2 separate regions of the Homo sapiens genome follow, and region 2 is linked to region 1. Evidence: promoter capture Hi-C in 16 types of primary human blood cells and fetal thymus (Javierre and others, 2016). All regions are on one chromosome and are shown on one strand. The core of a region is centred on a gene start or on the middle of the fragment in contact, and the rest is flanking DNA. Distances in the headings are between cores, read along the strand shown.

The links. Contacts are between HindIII fragments. The CHiCAGO score rates a contact against its expected background, and 5 or more counts as called.
Region 2: a contact is called between a fragment that was not itself captured here and the fragment with the promoter of OTP-AS1 in region 1, in 2 of 17 cell types (M0 macrophages and M2 macrophages). The highest score is 6.1, in M0 macrophages.

What each region holds. Positions count from the first base shown.
Region 1 is chr5:77,627,752-77,632,063 of GRCh38, reverse strand. OTP-AS1 (OTP antisense RNA 1) reads right to left here and starts at 2,393. Exons shown (of 2, transcript NR_198942.1): 1 at 2,303-2,393. OTP (orthopedia homeobox) reads left to right here. Exons shown (of 3, transcript NM_032109.3): 3 at 1,270-3,352. The coding sequence ends at 1,800. RefSeq lists enhancers at 1,355-1,404, 3,162-3,727 and a silencer at 1,575-2,014. The HindIII fragment of the contact is 19,458 bases long and covers 1-4,312 here.
Region 2 is chr5:78,012,197-78,016,508 of GRCh38, reverse strand. It overlaps AP3B1 (adaptor related protein complex 3 subunit beta 1), which reads left to right. Exons shown (of 27, transcript NM_003664.5): 26 at 961-1,099. Among named protein-coding and RNA genes, the nearest start is that of TBCA, 240 kb to the right of the region's middle. The HindIII fragment of the contact is 3,391 bases long and covers 625-4,015 here.

The DNA of each region.
Region 1 (4,312 bases), core at 1,144-3,643:
ATTTCCCTGAAAAAGGACGTTTGGGTTTGTCTGAGCAAAATTAAATTTGATTCATATATCTCGTAGTGAAATGTGACCTCCTTTAATTCATATTGGTCCGAAAATTTGCTTTTAGTTTATAAATGAAATGGGGGCGACTTGAGGGAACTGGAGGCCTTGTTACTTGGGACCCTTGGTAAGTTCCTGAAAGGAATAGACTTTGGCTTGGCGCGGTGGCTCACGTCTGTAATCCTAGCACTTTGGGAGGCCGAGGCGGGTGGATCACGAGGTCAGGAGTTCAAGACCAGCCTGGCCAACATGGTGAAACCCCGTCTCCACTAAAAGTACAAAAATTATCTGGGCATGGTGGCGCGTTTCTGTAATCCTAGCTACTCGGGAGGCTGAGGCAGGAGAATTGCTTCAGCCGGGACCCGGGAAGCGGAGGTTGCAGTGAGCCGAGATCGTGCCACTGCACTCCAACCTGGGCTACAGAGCAAGACTCCGTCTCAAAAAAAAAAAAAAAAAAAAAAAAAGAATAGGGTTGAAGGCTCTTGGGGCAGCAGGTTCCAGCCACTCGTACAGCCCAGACAAAGGTGTCCATAGAGTGGTTTGGGAATGAGGCACGGAGAGTTGTGGCAGTAGCACGAAGCAATATGGGAGGAATCGGAAGTCATGGTGGTGACCCAAACAACACTGTAGCTCAGTGGCGTTCACTTTCCCACGCAGATCACTGTATTAACCTCTCCGCTCTGTCAACCGTAGCGTTAGGGGTTTTCCTTTGTCTTTCGATTTTGAAACTATGTCATCCACAGCCTGTCATCAATTTCCAAATTTCCAGCGTTTCTGAAAATTCTATAGCACATCAGTGTTATAAGGCATGCTATTAAGCTACATGGGTACACGTTTATCTTCATTTGTACACCTGTGGGTCGAACTTTGACACATGCCTGACTGCAGACCTGTGAATCTGTGCAGTGCACAGAATGTGCAGGGGCGTGGTGAAGACTGCACACATTTGGTGTGTTTGCACAGTGCGTAAACTCTTCGGGGCACGAGCTCTTAGGAGCGCAGGACTCCGCGCTTGGTGGGTGCAGGGGGCGCCAGTTGCCAGGAGTTGGTGGGGAGCCACAGTCTCCGGCTGGGTATGGGGGCTTGTCGGGCCTACGGCACTTGTTCCTCCCAGGGCAGAGCGGCTGTATCCGAGGCGGGTTTCTGGGGCTCAAGCCCCAACTCCCCAGCCGCCGGGCCGGCTAATAGCTCCCTGTCTGTCTCCCGCCCCGCCCGCTCCAGGTCTGGTTCCAGAACCGACGCGCCAAGTGGAAGAAGCGCAAAAAGACGACCAACGTGTTCCGTGCGCCCGGCACACTGCTGCCCACGCCAGGCCTGCCTCAGTTCCCGTCGGCTGCCGCCGCCGCTGCCGCCGCCATGGGCGACAGCCTGTGCTCTTTCCACGCCAACGACACCCGCTGGGCGGCGGCCGCCATGCCTGGCGTGTCACAGCTGCCTCTGCCGCCGGCGCTGGGCAGGCAGCAGGCCATGGCGCAGTCGCTGTCCCAGTGCAGCCTGGCGGCCGGTCCGCCGCCCAACTCCATGGGCCTGTCCAACAGCCTGGCGGGTTCCAACGGCGCGGGGCTGCAGTCGCACCTCTACCAGCCCGCCTTCCCCGGCATGGTGCCCGCCTCCCTCCCCGGCCCCAGCAACGTCTCCGGTTCGCCCCAGCTCTGCAGCTCCCCGGACAGCAGCGACGTGTGGCGGGGCACCAGCATCGCCTCCCTCCGCCGCAAGGCGCTAGAGCACACAGTCTCTATGAGCTTCACTTAATGCAGCCGCGCCCCGGCCCGCTCCGCCCCCAGCACCGCCCCGGGGGCCGCCCCGAGGCCCTTCCGGCGCGCACCCGGACCCCGGCGCCCTGCCCCGTCCCGCCCCGGCCTTCGCCCCGTCTCGTTTCGTCCTCGCCTCTCTCCTCCACTCGCTCGGGCTCACCCCAAGCCCCAGCCCGCGAGGCCTCCCCTCCGCCTGATTTCGATCGCCCGCGGTCCCCCGTCTCCCGGCCGCCCCTCTTCCCTTCCCACCCAGCTGCGCCCTCGGCTCGGTCTCCAGCGCCTCAGCCCACCCTTCCCGCCACCCTGGCCTCCCTGCTTGCGCTGGCCGTGCTCGCGCCCTCCTCCTGGCCTTCTGACGGGCGGCGTTCCCACCCACACCTTCGACGCGACGCCTACGACCCCCCTCGCCCGCCGCCTCCCCTCCGGTCCCCTCTTTCCCCACACTTCGCGACCCTCCTCCCGCGCCCGGCAAAAAGTATCCTTCCCGCCATTTTACGTACCAGGGAGTCGACTCAGGATCTGAAATCAGACACCAATGGACTGGTTTGTGGGCAGAAACACACACACTCGCACTCTCGCTCACGCTCAGACGCTACACACGCGCGCGCACAGACACGGTGCACCTAGGTCACACACGGACGTGTTCAAGGGACAGCACAATGTTAGGGATTTTTGTCTTAAAGGAGGACAAGCATTGCTACCAACCGCCTCATCTGAGGGCCCAACTGATATGATTTGATTTATCCTTGTACTCTCCAAGCTCCTGTCTTTCTTTCCTCTCCCACCACGCTACCCTTGCCCAGTCCACCCAGTCACATCCGTGCAGCCCTCTCTTGGCTTGCAAGATAACGCTTTTATTTTTATTTTATCTTATTTTCATTTTCTTAAGCACAACTGTGTGAGAGTGTAGAAGGGAAGGCTTCTCAGGAGGAACGTGACAGTGGATTGGGTGGCTGGAGTAGACTAAAGCAGTCATGTGACGAGGAAGAGGTGATCTGACCCATTTTGATAAGTCTTTATAAGGAAGAATAAAATAAACGTGTAAGCAAAATTTTCTTTTGTAAAAGCAAAAGCCACATCTCTTTTCTGGATCCTTCAGGACTGGGGTTTGTTTGCTTCCTTTTCTGTTTCTGTCTTCTCGCTGCTCTGTGCCCTTGGTTGTTTTGTGGTGGTCCTGTCGTCCCTCGTGCCCCTCGGCCACCTGCTGGCAGCCGATGGGGGCACTCGGACATCTACAACCCTGCAACTTTGTACAGAGAAACACAATCAGCTCTTTCTGCATGTGCTGGTCAAATCCAAACCCAGAGAACAGAAGCGCTTTCTAAGAATGAACAAATATGTGAAATAGGATGTTTTGTGTAGATAAAGCATTCTTGTTACATACTGGTCAATTTGTGATATGTTTTAACTTAATGTCTGTGTTTATTTATGGAATTCGGTTTTCTTAATAAATGTTTGAGCTAATATAAAGCATATTATTTGACTTTTCCGGACAAGTTTATATCAAGTTAAATGTAAATGGATAAAATAAAATCATTTTCAGTATGTGATATAGAGAATGATGGGTTTTGGTGTGACCTTGAACGGCGGGAGGGGTCTCGTGGGGGGAGGGGAGGGGCCGGTCTTGGGAATGGTTATATTCGCGCCAGTTGGAACGCGTGGGCCCTTCGCCCTGCAGTGGGCTTGGGTTCGGTTTCTGGGCTGCAAGGTGAGGTCTCCGCGACGGGGCGGCATGCTGGGGCGCCGCGAGCGCCTCACGCAAGCTCTGAGCCTCCCGAGGTTTCCGGGCCAACCCAGGTTTCCCAGGTGGGACTCCGAGCGTCGCTGTCGGCACGAAACGCAGGGCGCGAGAGTTCCTCAGATGAACGGTGTCCCTGGGGCAGTGGCGCGGAGGGCGCCCCTCGCGGGCTGCGTGCGCGTGATGGGGAGGCCGTGGGTGGGAGGGGACCACAATTCGCACCCTCGGCCTTCAGAGCCTGGAGTTCTGCTCTCCGGCGCCGCCCCAGCCGTGTCTGGCCCCAGGTACGCGGTGGAAGCTAGGCCGCGGCTCTTGCCTCCTCCGGGGCCTAGGCCTCTTTGGGGCCTTCCCTAAGGCCACGGCGCCCCTTCATGTCCCCAGACCCGGGATCCGCTTCAGATACCCGGGACCTCCCAAGTAAGGGACAAACGCGCTTCTCCAGAAGAGGCGTGTCCGGGACGACCAGCACCTACCAGGGCTCCCCCAACCCCGGGGCTGCTCTGGTTTCCTGTCAGGGTCCCTGCTGGCTGCGTACTAACCTCGACTTCAGGCACGTGCTCAGGGGACTGCCCCAAAGGAGTAGGAAAAAAATGCCGTTTCTTCGGTCGGCCGAGGGGAAGGTTTGCGGTGTGTTTTAAACTTGGAGGCAAATCGATATCACAGGCTTCCTTGGGAAGGCTAACCGAAATCAATCTTGTGGTTTGAAATTTAATGGTCATTATAGGCATTGAGAGGGCACCCCTTTTCCCACGGGAAGACTTCTCATTTGGTT
Region 2 (4,312 bases), core at 1,071-3,570, 380 kb before region 1:
ATCTCAAAGAGTTATTGGTTCTAATAGATAACCATTAGATGTCTATGACTTATATCACCGATCCAAATAGATGGCATTTGTTGTAATTAATTTGTTTTTTAACCCGGGCACTAAATTTCAGTATTTGTTCCAAGTGTTTGGTATGTTGTTGAATTTGTTCACTGAACATTTTTACAGGAGGTCTGGATATTAATGGCATGTCTTGCATTAACTCTGTATGGTTTTTTTCATGCTTTTGCTTAACTTAATTTCTCTCCTAAATATTATTTGAAATGTCCCTGGGATTTAAGAGTTTTCATTCTCATTTTTTCTTTCATTTTCAAAGTTTTTGCTTCAGGAGTTTCAATTAGTGTTTTTGTCAGCAAAACACTTTCCATTCACTAGACAAGTACTTTTAGCTCTAAGTATAGCCTAAATACTTGTGCATTTTCAGTGACTTCCAGTCACTGTTGAGATAACTTCGATCTGTCATACTGAGGCCATTTACCAGGTATTGCTGCTAGTTATCCTGGAATTACTTTGATGTGTTCTCAAGCAGCATTTGGCAATGAGAGATCTTTGAATGAATAGAAAAAAATAGCAATAGTAACAAATACATTTATATATTATTAAGAAGTAAAAGCTTACTAGTTTACATAAACCCCAGATTGAGTATACTTTAAAGAGACTGAAATTGATATTTCATATGTGTGATTCTAAGTTTTTATCCTATCATACTTAAAATTAGATTTAAGTGATTTTTTACTGAATTTTTACACATTTTCCTATACAATGAGGATTTTAAAAAACTTCGAAACAATTGCATTTTGTTTTAGTTTTATAATTATCTTGTAAATTACATCCTAAAGTAGTGTTTCTTTTGTTGAAAAAAAGTTAAAATTTTGGCCATGAGCTTAAAATTCTGTAAATGTAATTTTCAAAAAGAAATTAATAAAAGGGAGCCTTCTTTTGCTTTTACAGGAGTGCTAACAGGAATGAATGAAACTTCTGCTGTAATCATTGCTGCACCACAGAATTTCACTCCCTCTGTGATCTTTCAGAAGGTTGTAAATGTAGCCAATGTAGGTGCAGTCCCTTCTGGCCAGGATAATATACACAGGTAGGTTCACTAACACACGATGTGGAGGTGAAGATGACTTGAATATGTATAAATATATAATTTTAAATTCATTGTTTTCTTTGGAAATAATAACCCCTAAACATATATATATATACACACACTCCCTTTTTTTTCTGATGGTATAGTTGTTGATTGCTTTGCATTAAGGCTGTCTTTCCCATCTCAGAGCATCCTTATCATACTGGCATGGTCTTTCCTGAAAGATATACAGAGCATATTCACATTTTATAATAGCTTGGTAATTTATAAAGTTACCCTTTTTGAGGTGGTTGAGAGTTTATCTTATTTCACCAGATTCAGTAGATGTCCAGGAAGAACTATTCTATAAAGCAGTATAGTTGGACTTTTTTAATTGAAAGGGAGGACGTTTGGGTACTACATACAGATTTCCTTTTGATAGCCATCCCCTGAGACTGCTTCCAGTAAATAAAGAGCTGCTAGATGACCAACATGGGGGTAAATACAGCTTCTGTTTCTTAGACCAGTAATATTTTCTATCACCAAGCATCTGAAATATGAGATCCAAGTTATTTGTCCTGAAAGGCAGCAGAAAATGTGATTAATGTTTGCCCTCTTGTATTTTTATGAATTCCAGTGGCTTTAAATGAATGTAAAGATAAAAATAATTATCTCTTATCCATTTGGTGATTGCACAGTCCTCTGTGAGCTTAAGGGAATTCGTTGCAAACCATCTCATGGCAGGCATACTTCTGCCATTAAAAATATCTACACACTGTATATTTAGTGTGCCCTTTCTTATATAATTATCAATCATAGAAAACAAATTTAGCATCAAAGGGAAGGCCTGCAGACCTTAAAAAACATTTTTTTAAGTTAACACAGGAGCAAGAGAGGCCCCATATGAAAAATGCTACAGGTGATTTGGGTTTTAGATCTAACTCTGCCACTAATGGGCTTGGTAATCTTGGGGAAGTTATAACTTCTTATGTGCTTTACATTCCTTATGTGTTTGGAAATGGGTGGCAGGAAGAAAAAGTGAGGTAGGATTGAAATGAAATTCTGTGATAGCTATGAAAGAACATTAGATTTGACTTCAGAAGAGCTGACCTGCCATTACTGTATCCGTAGTTGCCTAACTTCACTGTACTAATCACGGCGGAATAAAAACTGCATGTACTAGTTGAAAAATAGATTTACCTTGTACTGTTTTTTTTTTTTTTAAGTTGCTCAAGAGGTCTCATGCTTTCATTTCTTTTTTGTTGTTGTTGAGACAGTCTTACTCTGTCACCCAGGCTGGAGCGCAGTGGCGCGATCTCGGCTCACTGCAAGCTCCGCCTCCCGGGTTCACGCCATTCTCCTGCCTCAGCCTCCCGAGTGGCTGGGACTACAGGCACCCGGCACCACGCCCGGCTAATTTTTTGTATTTTTAGTAGAGACGGGGTTTCACTGTGTTAGCCAGGATGGTCTCGATCTCCTGACCTCATGATCCACCCGTCTCGGCCTCCCAAAGTGCTGGGATTACAGGCATGAGCCACCGCGCCCGGTGTCTTTCATTTCTTAGTTTTTGACAAGCTCTATCTATCTCACATAGGATGGTGATAAAATAAGAAAATGGATGTAAGGTCATGATACAGACCACCACAAAAATACAACTTATTTATCAGTTAATGTTGTTCAATAGGGAAAAGAGTAACAAAAGCCTTTTCAGTGAAAATAAATATTTTGAGTTTTCCTGTTTTAATTTTATTCTGCTTTAAATACTTCTTTTCACTTTCCTAGGTAATTTTCTCTAACAGAAACTGTTTTGTTTTATTTATGGGTCCTTGGAATTATTGAATTTACTAAAACACCAAAATGCTGTATTATCAAGTATAACTTCTTCAGTATGAAATTTTACCTGAAACACCTAGTATCCAGCAATACTGCAGTCTTGTTTTAATATAGAGTAGCCACTGTTTATGCTGGAACATCTAGTTTAGTTTTGTTTTGTGTATAGGTTGTTTTGGGTTTCTTTTTTTTGTTAACTTTTCTGAAAGCAATGGCAGCTGTCTAGATTTTTGTTTCTTAGAAGAAAAAATGTCAAGGCTGGGCAAGGTGGCTTACATCTGTCATCCCAGTACTTTGGGAGGCTAAAGTGGGTAGATCTCTTGAGCCCAGGAGTTCAAGACCAGACTGGGCAACATAGGGAGACCCTGTCTCTACAAAAAATATAAAATTAAATCCGGCATGGTGGCACATGCCTGTAGTCCCAGTTACTTGGGAAGCTGAGGTAGGAGGATCGCCTGAGCCCATGGAGGTCAAGGCTGTAGTGAGCTGTGATCACACCATTGCACTCCAGCCTGGGTGACAGAGTGAGACCCTGTCTCAAAAAAAGAGAAAAGAAAGAAGAAAAGTGAAGTTACAAAGCCACATAAAATGAAAGCTATCTTCCTATTGGGAGATAGACTTAGAGGGACCCTTAGCACAGTTGTATAATTCTTATTAAAGATAGTTTGCCAGTAACTTGTCTTGCTGGTTTGGAATGTAATACCTGTAATACCTGCTCAAATGATTTAAATTAAAATTACAATCAATTCTCAATTGTCCATGCTAATACAGAGGAGACACACAACTAAGAACCATTTATATTTGACTTTGGAGTGCAGAGATTGAACCCAAAACTTAATGTTCGTGGTCCTCATACTCATCCACAGTGTCTTGAGGCTTTTCTGTTCTAGCCGTATCATCAGTGGCCTGGTGTTTGGCTCTGTAACCTGGGGGAGGGCCCAAGTTACTACAGGGTCAAAAGTCAATAAAATACCTGTAGATACTTAAGAATAGCCTGTGCTGTCTTAACTTGCTTCTCAAGTCCCATCATACTGAATTGAAAAATATTTCATATTTGCTTTTATAGCTAAAGTATGACTGTAATAATGTTCTAAATTTTAGAAAGCTTCCAGGTAACAAACACCTAAAGTTATTTTTATTTTTTATACAGATATTGACATAAATTATTATCCTGTGTATGTAACACTTTTTCTCATTCTTTTTGCTAATAGCAATTAAAACAAAAATAAACAATTGTTAATAAAACGTACTTTTGTACTTTTTTTTTGCTTTTCTTAATTTCATTTAAAATGAAATAGGAATTAGTGTTTACATTATAATAATATAAATTAACTGTTTACCACTTTATTGAAATAAATGTTTTTAACTATAGTGTTCCATATTATATTACCCTACTCCATGGAA